2 separate regions of the Homo sapiens genome follow, and region 2 is linked to region 1. The links are contacts of gene promoters, found by promoter capture Hi-C in human tissues and cell types (Jung and others, 2019). All regions are on one chromosome and are shown on one strand. The core of a region is centred on a gene start or on the middle of the fragment in contact, and the rest is flanking DNA. Distances in the headings are between cores, read along the strand shown.

What was found. Contacts are between HindIII fragments. The study calls those that stand out against the background at their distance.
Region 2: a contact is called between a fragment that was not itself captured here and the fragment with the promoter of RP9 in region 1, in 1 of the 25 tissues and cell types used here (lymphoblastoid cells).

The regions. Positions count from the first base shown.
Region 1 is chr7:33,106,350-33,111,298 of GRCh38, forward strand. It overlaps RP9 (RP9 pre-mRNA splicing factor), which reads right to left and starts at 3,055. Exons shown (of 6, transcript NM_203288.2): 1 at 2,872-3,055. The coding sequence starts at 3,023. RefSeq lists silencers at 2,711-2,940, 2,951-3,430. The HindIII fragment of the contact is 15,438 bases long and covers 1-4,949 here.
Region 2 is chr7:32,480,535-32,485,408 of GRCh38, forward strand. LSM5 (LSM5 homolog, U6 small nuclear RNA and mRNA degradation associated) reads right to left here. Exons shown (of 5, transcript NM_012322.3): 5 at 4,804-4,874. Among named protein-coding and RNA genes, the nearest start is that of LSM5, 7.4 kb to the right of the region's middle. The HindIII fragment of the contact is 4,347 bases long and covers 254-4,600 here.

The DNA.
Region 1 (4,949 bases), core at 1,805-4,304:
CTTTCTTGCAGAGATAAGGTCTATAAATGCTGCCCAGGCTGGTCTAGAACTTCTGGCCTCAAGCGATCTTCCCACCTCTACCTCCCAAAATGCTGGGATTATAGGCGTGAGCCACAGAGCCCAGCCTAGTTATAATAATGTTAATACTAAGCATTCGTTTAGCAAAAATTGCTATGATGGAACTATACTGGAAGATTGGAAACAAGAAGGGTAGGTAAAGAACTAAATCCTTACTGTGACAAGAAGTTAAGAGGTATGTCTAAGATGTTGAATTGATGTAAACAGTATAAATATACAATTTAGGAATATACAGTTGGTGGGCGCAGCGGCTCACGCCTATAATCCCAGCACTTTGGGAGGCTGAGGTGGGCAGACCACTATGTCAAGAGATCGAGACCATCCTGGCCAACATGGTGAAGCCCCATCTCTACTAAAAATATAAAAATTAGCTGGGCATGGTGATGCACACCTGTAGTCCCAGGTACTTGGGAGGCAGAGACAGGAGAATCGCTTGAACCCAGGAAGTGGAGGCTGCAGTGAGCCAAGATTGCACCACTGCACTCCAGCCTGGGTGACAGAGCGAGACTCCATCTCAAAAAAAAAAAACAAAAACCAAACAGTTAAATCCCAGAAGTAAAACCTAAAAGTTTACACAGAGAAGCCTGGTTTGGGAGGGGGAAGAGGGACACAGGGAATATGAGTGGTTACTGAGGAGTTGGGCAGCCTATTGCTATTTTTTGGTAGCACTTTTAGTACTATTTGAATTTTAAAACTACATATTACTGTGGTATAAATACAATTTAAAGCTCAAACAAGATTCTGAACTGGCCAAAGCAAATGTCTCAACGGCTCATTCAGTTTTAAATCTCAGAAACTGGAAAAATCCCACCAGTCAATCAGACACCTGGGTTCAGCTCTAGATTTGCTGGTTAACTAACTGGTCAATGTATGCTTGATCACATGACTTAACCACTGTTCCTCCATTTTTTCATCTGTAAAAGTAGGTTATAATCTCTCTCATCTGTGAAAAAGCTCTCTGAGCTACAAATAAGTGGAATTAACCATCCTCTAGCATTCTATAGCTAAATATATTGAGGGCTGGGCAGGGCCAGGCATTCTGATGCTTACGCTAGGGGAAGATCTTTGAACACCTGACTTCCCTGGGAGACCAAGAGCGCCACACAGTGACTTGAAAGGGCCAGGACTGCCCTGTAACATGGATGCCCACAATGCAGGGTCTCTATCCTGCATCCCCTGCCCTGCTAAGGGGAAAAGTCGTTCAGAGCGGGCCACACTGGAAAAAGAGCAGGCCAGGTCCCAACATAGGAATTTATCTCACATCAAACCTCCCAGAAGGTTAATTATAAAAAGGATTTTAATTCTTTGAGGAACTTTTCTTATATGAATTATGTTTTTTAAAAGTAGACAAATTAAACTCTACTTGAGCAAAGAACTGTTTTCAAAGAGGGCACCCCCATAACCAGAATAGGTCCAGAGCAATTCTCAGGCTGCCACCTGGTGGGATAACATTTATGGACAGGAAAAGGAAAGTGATGTACAGAAAAGCAAATGAGGTAGAGAAATAGCTGGATTCCATACAGCCTGGCGTTTGCCTTCTTTGAACAGGGTTTCAAAGGCTGACCACCTGTGACGGCCTGAAAATCAGCTGCTGTGATTGTCTGAGACTCAGGTACTTATAACAGTAGGTTACAGTCTGTTTACACATCTACTTAGGTTACAGTTCACTAAGTACAGAGAAACTTTTAGGCTAAACTTAAAATATTCAAGGAGGCAGCGTTAGGCTATACTTAACACCTACTTAGCACAGGTAACTAGAAGTGGCTAAAACAGAAACGAATTCTTGAATAACTGAGTGAATGCCACACTTAGAAAAGGTTGTTTTATGCAGCTAATTATAGAATCACGGACAAGAACTGAAAGAGTTGCTGCCTGAACTTTCCACTCGAGGTCTGTGTTAGAATTTAGGAAACGCCACCCTGATAAATGACTGCAAAAGACAAGAATGCACCATCCCCAAACATGCCACCCTGGCATATTGATGACTTTGAGCTATAAGTAACAGAACCAAACAACACAGGATAACTTATTCAGCTACCCCTCAACTGCCTAAAATAAAGTATGACTGCTTTTTTTCCTTTTGTTCTTATTATTTTTCGACTCGCCTGTTGTAAACAGAAATTTACACCTATAAAGGAAATTTTCTGTAGTAAATGTATCTGTATCAGGAAGACAGCTGCTTGGGGGCAACTTTTATCGCCTGAGCGCCTCATCGGGATAACAAAGCAACCTTTATTCACCATACATTTCCCCCATCACCCTTCCAAAAGGTCTCCACCACGCCCCAAAAGGCCCACGCCCCTATTCCCTGGCCCTTCTTTGTCTCCCACTTTTGTGGCCCTCTAGTGCACGGGTACATAATTAAAAGTTTTTCTCCTGTTAATCTGTCTTATGACAATTTAATTTGTGGCCCAGCTTAAGAACTTAGAAGGGTAGAGGGAAACCATATTTCCTTCCCCTACATTTGAATCTTCTTTACACCACACTCTCCCGGGTCATTTGGACTCTCCTGGAACCCCCTGGAGCTAGGGAAGCGCAGGGCCTCCCAAGTCAGATTCTGCTTGGTGCCGAGCGGCAGTTGGCTCCCTGAACGCCCCGCCAGGAGGATGGACTTCAAGTCCTTGACCGCGGCGCCCGACATCGGTCGCCCGCACCAGGCTCCTGCCGGGCCCAGCCCCCCTGCCTGCTCGCGGGGGCTCGGAGGACCCGGCCTAGCGCCCACCGCGGCGTCCCGCGCCCCGGGCCCCTGGCTTCAGAAGACTGGCCGCGCGCGGACGGCAGCTCGGGACTCACAAGGACTCCAGGTGCTTGAGCTGCTGCAGCTGCTGCGCGTCGTGTCGCCGCCGCTTCTGCTCCCGACGTCGCTGCAGCTCCTGCTCCGGCGGCTCACGCGGCCGCCGCGCGCCCGCAGCCCCCACGTCCTCGCGCCCAGGCCGGGACGACATGTCAGCCCCCGCAGCGCCGCTCGGGCAACCCCCGCGGCGCGGCTCCGGCGGCGGCGGCGGCGGCGGCGGCAGCCAAGAGAGCACTTCCTCCGCGCGGCGGTCGCGGGGCTTCGCAGCGCCCCCTCCCGCCGCCGCCCCGCAACTCACCCCGGCGGCCCCGAAGTCTCAGCCTCGGCCACCCGATCCCCGCCTCCCCGCGTCGGGCCCCAAGTCAGGGGCTCCGGGTCTCGGGCCCAGCCGCCAGGCGGGCTGCTGCGGGTGGGTGGGGAGCGCCGCCTAGCTGGAGCCGAAGCGGGGCGAGGCGCTAGTTGGGAGCCTGGAGGTTCCCGCCCGGCCACACCCACCTCAGGTATACTAGCAACAGTCACATAGGGATGAGCAGATGAAATGTATTCATAAAAAAATGTTCAAATTAGCCAGGCGTGGTGGCGGGCGCCAGTAGTCCCAGCTACTTGGGTGGCTGAGGCAGGAGAATTGCTTGAACCCAGGAGGCAGAGGTTGCAGTGAGCCGAGATGGTGCCCCTGCACTCCAGTCTGGGCGAAAAAGCGAGATTGTCTCTCAGAAAAAAAAAAAAAAAAGTGTTCAAAAAGTGAAATGTATAAACATATAATTATGTTCGGTAATAGTGTGCACCCAGCTTTATAACTGCGGTCATCTGATATACCATGAGAGACAACCTAACTCTTTTGACAGGATGGGTCACCATGACGTCACCACTGTGCCAGTCACCCGAGGAGCCAAGATCCTGAGAAATTTCATCTTTCACAAATGCAGATGTACAGAAAAGACACTTATTTATTTATCGAGGAAATTTCTACATTTTTGCATATATGTAGAATGCTTACACAGTCACCATTGTAATAATGAGCTTTGATTGAGTCATATTTGCAAAAAATGCATAAAACAAATTTGAACTCTCTAAAAGTCTTTATATAGTTGATGCCTCCAGTATTAGAAATGATGTTAAGATGTAATACATAGCATAGTGAATTGTAAAACATAATGCTGACAATTTACAATAATGAAAAAGCTAAAAGAGAAAATAGAAAAACGAAAGCAAACTAAAAAGAAAATTCAACATAGAAAAAGTGTATTGCAGGGATAGATTATGGGCAATTGCATGGCGATTGTCCACATGAACTGCCCAACTTTTATGATGATTAACATATTTTGAAGTCTTGCATCATGATGAATAGCTTTTTTTTTTTTCTTTTAGGACATGGCTCTCCTCGATGATACAGTCTCATTAATTTTCTATGTGATACTGCTCTTTCCAAAATTCTTTTTAACTTTTTAAAGTTTTTTATTTTGTAGAGACGGGGTCTCGCTATGCTGCTTAGGCTGGCCTTGAACTCCTGGCCTCAAGCAATCCTCCTGCCATAGCCTCCCAAAACACTGGGATTACAGGTGGGAATCACTGCACCTGACTATGAAATTATTTTGTGATTTGATATTCTCTGACTTCTCTTTGTGCTTTCTTTCTGTTGTACCCTCCTGTCCATGAACCCCTCTGTTTTTCATTTTATTCTTCTGCCCCCTCCTAAGACACCAGAGATTCATTCTTGAGGCCAGTCAAGCAGCCTTGGTGTTGGCCCACTGGTGGGGCAGCTGCAGTTGGTCCTTAGTCTGTGCTACTGGACAGGTTTTAAACCTTTCAGAATGGAGCAACTAAAAAAAGAATAGATTTTCTCCTGCTTGTATTGATCACCCTTCACAGTGTAATCTTGACACCATTGTTTTGCTGCTAAGGTGTATTTTTACAAGCTCTTATCTTACCAGTGACCTTTCCCCACTGGGGAGATGAGGAGAGGAAAAAAGTAGGAGAAGGGAAAGATCACATGGCTAGATTAGAGAGTACAATGCAAAATCTTTCTTTTTTTCCTACCCAAAATACAAGTCTTCAAGGAACTCTCATGGTGAAGTGG
Region 2 (4,874 bases), core at 1,177-3,676, 630 kb before region 1:
TTATAAATTCTGTGCTGTGAAGGCAAGACTGAGATGTGACTGAGAAGGTCAACAGGCACCCCTCATGGTAACCTGTTAAGGAACCTGGCCTTTCATTGTATAGAAGGTAACTTACTGAAAAGTTTGAAAGCCGGCCAGGTGGAGTGGCTTCACCTGTAATCCCAGCACTTTGGGAGGCCAAGGCGGGTGGATCACCTGAGGTTGGGAGTTCAAGACCAGCCTGACCAACATGGAGAAACCCCGTCTCCACTAAAAATACAAAATTAGCCAGGCGTGGTAACTCATACGTGTAATCCCAGCTACTCAGGAGGCTGAGGCAGGAGAATCGCTTGAACCTCGGAGGCAGAGGTTGCTGTGAGCCGAGATCGCGCCATGGCACTCCAGCCTGGGCAACAAGAGCGAAACTCCATCTCAAAAAAATAAAGCCAAACATAGCATGACCATATCCTGCATTTTAGATCAATCAGTCAGTTGCTCTGATGGTCTGATGGCTGGGATGGACAGATATGACAGGGTAGAGATGGGAGGCAGGCAGGAAGGCAGAGGAGGTTTTTGTCTTAGTACAGCAGAGACTCAAGGGCTATTGGAGTCTTGAGGGGGGCCAATAATTAGCACTCTTCTTCCACAATTGAGTTCTGAACCAATTGAGAACAAAGGCAAAGTAGAAAACAGACAGCAGTCATTGTTACTACTACTACATTGGATGATGTAACTTATATCTACAGACTGTAGTTAACTTCTGTGTTTGGAACTCCAGAATTATTCAGATGTACCCACCAAACCATAGGCAAACCACAAACCACCCCAGACTTCTTCATGTGGAAGCAGACACCTCTAAAACTTACAGGAAAAAGCAGAGCAGAACCCACACTCCCTCAGGCAACTCAGTCTGCATGTCTCCGGGCATACAGAATAAAAGGACAGAGAGAGGGCAGATGTGTTACACTAATTAAGCTTTCATGTAGAAGAAAACATCAGAGGTAGAAAAGAAGCATTTCCCTTACATTCCCCATCTTTTTGTTCTTTTCACTCACTGAACTTAACCATTAGAGCCATAGAGAAGAACACAGTCTATCACTCCCAAATCCAACTGCCATTGGGATCACTGGAAGCAGTTTAGATTTTGCCCCAAAAGGCTCTAAACAGAGTCAGAATAATATATTAATTAAGGCAACTCCAAGGCTTCTGTAATTCTAAGTCTGAAAATTCACTCCATTTCCCACCCAAAGTATGCCCACCACATTGTTGAGGCGGGAAATTAAAGAAAAATAAACTTAAAAAGAAAGAGAAATAAGTTTTCCTGTGTTAGGCTGACTTGTCCCAGAGGCAGCAAAAGGCACAGCCCAGACCCAGGAAGTCTTGATAATATTATCTAATGTGCTCTGGAAACTCTCCCAGCATTCCCTCAACATACGGAGAAGAAAAACAAATTTTCCTTCGTTTTATGGAATGAGTTTATAGATTCCTGTTCTCTGTAACCAGTGACTTCAAACATTCTGTTTTATCTAAGCAGTAGAGTGAAGGTCAGAGCCTCTGAGCAGGCCTGTGTTATGGCCACCTGGGTGCCAGTGAAGGTTATAGGATAAGCCCGTGCCTAGGCAAAACCTAGATAACAGACATCTGGGTTGACTGGCAATGGTCATGTGTAATCCTGAGTTATGATCTGTTACAATTTGATTAACTGTCTTTGTCCTGCCTCTGTATCCCTGCTTTCAGGCCACTGTAAGCTTGCTTCAAGCTAGCCCACCCCCTTTTGTGAAGTGTGCATAAAATCAAGTGCTGTCTTTGTTCTGGGCCCAGTATTTCAATGTTAAGTCTGCAGGGTCTGAGTGCACTCAATAATAAATATATCCTCCTCTATACACCCCAAGGTCTCTCTCTGGTCCTCCTGATCCTGCAACATGATCTGTGATGGCTAATTTTAGGTGTCAAGTTAACTGGATTAAGGATATCTAGAAACCTAGTAAAGCATTATTTGGCTGTGTTTATGAGGGTGTTTCCAGACTACTTTAGGGTGTGAGTCTGAGTGGACTAGGTGAGATACACCTTCAATGTGGGCCAGCATTCAGTTGACAGAAGGTCCAAAGAGAACAACACAGAAAAGGCAACATGTCTGTCTCCCTCCTAGAGCGGGGATAACTCTTCCTTCTCTGTCTTTGGATATAAGAACTCCTGATGTTCTGATGATGTTGTCCTCTGAGGACAGAGAAGGAAGAGTGATCCCAACTTTAGGAGACCTCTGGACTCCAGGACTTACACCAGTAGCCCCCTGGGTTCTCAGGCCTTCAGCCTCAGACTGAGAATTTTATCATGAGCATCCCAAGCTCTGAGGTCTTTGGACTTGGACTGAGCCACATCAAGGTCTCCAGCTTGCAGACAGCCTGTTTTGGGGCTTCCCAGCCTCCATAATCGCATGAACCAATTCTCCTAATAAATCCCCTTATATATCTATATACATATACTATTGGTCATCTCTGGAGAACCCCAACTAATAAATGGTCTAACCTGGCATATCAGCACACCAACACCCAATAATAAAATGCCAACAACAGAGATGCCCAAATCTACATATAATCCTGTGCCATTATCAAATTTACTGGAATTCAAAAATTAAACCTCCTTCCAAATCAAAGTCCAAAAATGTTAAACTCCACTAGAATTAAAATCCAAAACTAAATACCCTTATTTTTGTAAGTTAAGAATCAACCAGCCTAGGCAACATGGTGACACCCTGTCTCTACAAAATATTAAAAAATTAGGCCAGGCACGGTGGCTCACAACTGTAATCCCAGCACTTTGGGAGGCCAAGGCGAGTTGATCGCTTGAGCCCAGAGTTTGAGACCAGCCTGGGCAATATGACAAGACCCAGTCTCTATCAAAAACACAAAAAATTAACCAGGTGTGGTGGTGTGCACCTGTAGTGTGGGAGGATCACCTGAGCCCGAGAAGTCGAGGCTACAGTGAGCCATGACCACTGCACTCCAGTCTGGGTGACAGACCGAGACCCTATCTTTAAAAAAACAAAAAGAGAAAAGATAGCTGGGCATGGTGGCACCTGCCTGTGGATCCAGCTACTTGGGAGGCTAAGGGGGGAGAATCGCTTGATCCCAGTGGTTCGAAGCTGCAGTGAGCACTGATCACACCACTGCACTCTAGCCTGGGTGACAGAGCAAGACCTTGTCTCAAAACAAACAAAAAATGTCCAACATTCTTAAGTTAAATGCCCAAAACAACCTTTCCCAAATCCTTATTCTGTTCAGTCTTAACCAGAAGGGGGTTTGATGCTTAGGTGGTTAAAGTCCTTTCAGCAGCCACAACCCAAGCTGTTACTCATGGGAAAGTAATTTCTTTAGGGCCTCAGAAGTTACACTAGATATGCCTCAGATACATCACTTTTTAAAAATTGAGATGTAATTCATGTAACATGAAATCCACTCTTTTAAGGTTATAATTCAGTGCTTTTTAGTATATTCACAAGGTTGTGCAACCATCTAATCCCAGAACTTTTTCATCACCCCAAAAAACAAACCCATACCCATTAGCAGTCACTAGTATAGTTGTCTATTTCTGTGAATTTGCCTGTTCTGGATCATATAAATCAAATATGTGGTCTTTTGTGTCTGGCTTCTTTCACTTAGCATAATGTTACAGTTCATCCACACTGTAGCATACACAAGTACTTCATTCATTTTAACAGATAATATTCTATTGTATGAATATATCGCATTTCAGTTATCCATCCATCCATCGATGGACATTTGGGTTGCTTCCACTTTGAGACATTAGGAATAATGCTGCCGTGAATGTTCATACAAGTTTTTGTGCAGACATGTTTTTAGTTCTCTTGGGTATGAACTGAGGAGAGGAGTTGCAGGGTCGTATGGTAATTGTTTAACTTTTTGAGGAATCATCAAATTATTTTCCACAGTGCATGCATCATTTTACATTCGCACCAGCAAGGTACTAGGGCTCCAATTTCTTCATATCCCAGCCAATACTTGTTACATTAATTTTTGTACAATTCTTGTTACAATAATTTTTTATAATTATAGCCATTCTATAGCACCCATGAAATGGCGTTTCATTGTAGGTTTTGAGACGGGGTCTCACTGTCACCCAGGCTGGAGTACAGTGGTGCAATCATAGCTTACTGAAATCTCAAACTCCTGGGCTCAAGCAATTCTCCTGCCTCAGCCTCCCAACTACGTAGGACTACAGGTGCATGCACACTACCACACCTCACTAATTTTTTAAAATTTTTGGTAGAGATGGGGTCTCACTATATTACCCAGGCTGGTCTCCAACTCCTGGCCTCAATCTATCCTTCCACCTCGACCACCTACAATGTAGCACTGGGATTACAGACATGAGCCACTGCACCTGGCCTAACTCCTATGATGAAAAAAGGAAGAGCTTGGGTATGACTATTAGCTCCCCTGGGATAGCAAATAATAAAGGGGTGGAAAGAAGCAGGTGTTACATCACTTACTCCCCTCCAAAGGGAAAGAAACAACAGTGGAGGGAAAGCATTGCCCCCAAGAGTTAGAAGCAAAGTGTGAGGCAACCAGCTCATACTGGCTCCTGAGAATCAACTGTCAAATCCTTGAGAATTTTGCAAACCAGTTGTTAAAGCCTTGGTAGCTTGAAATTAGCCAAGGCAGTAGTACTGACAACATGTAAATCAGAGAAAACTACAAATCAGTGCTTTGTGTTTTGGAAAATAAGGTTGGATCCTTTTTCCATGTGGTAATACCAAAATTCCAGATAGATTCCAGATTTAAATCAAACGCAGAAAACATAAAGTGCCCAAAGAAAAGTATAATCAAAGCAAAGGTTTTCCAATCCACGTGGACCAAATACAAAAACCATAATGG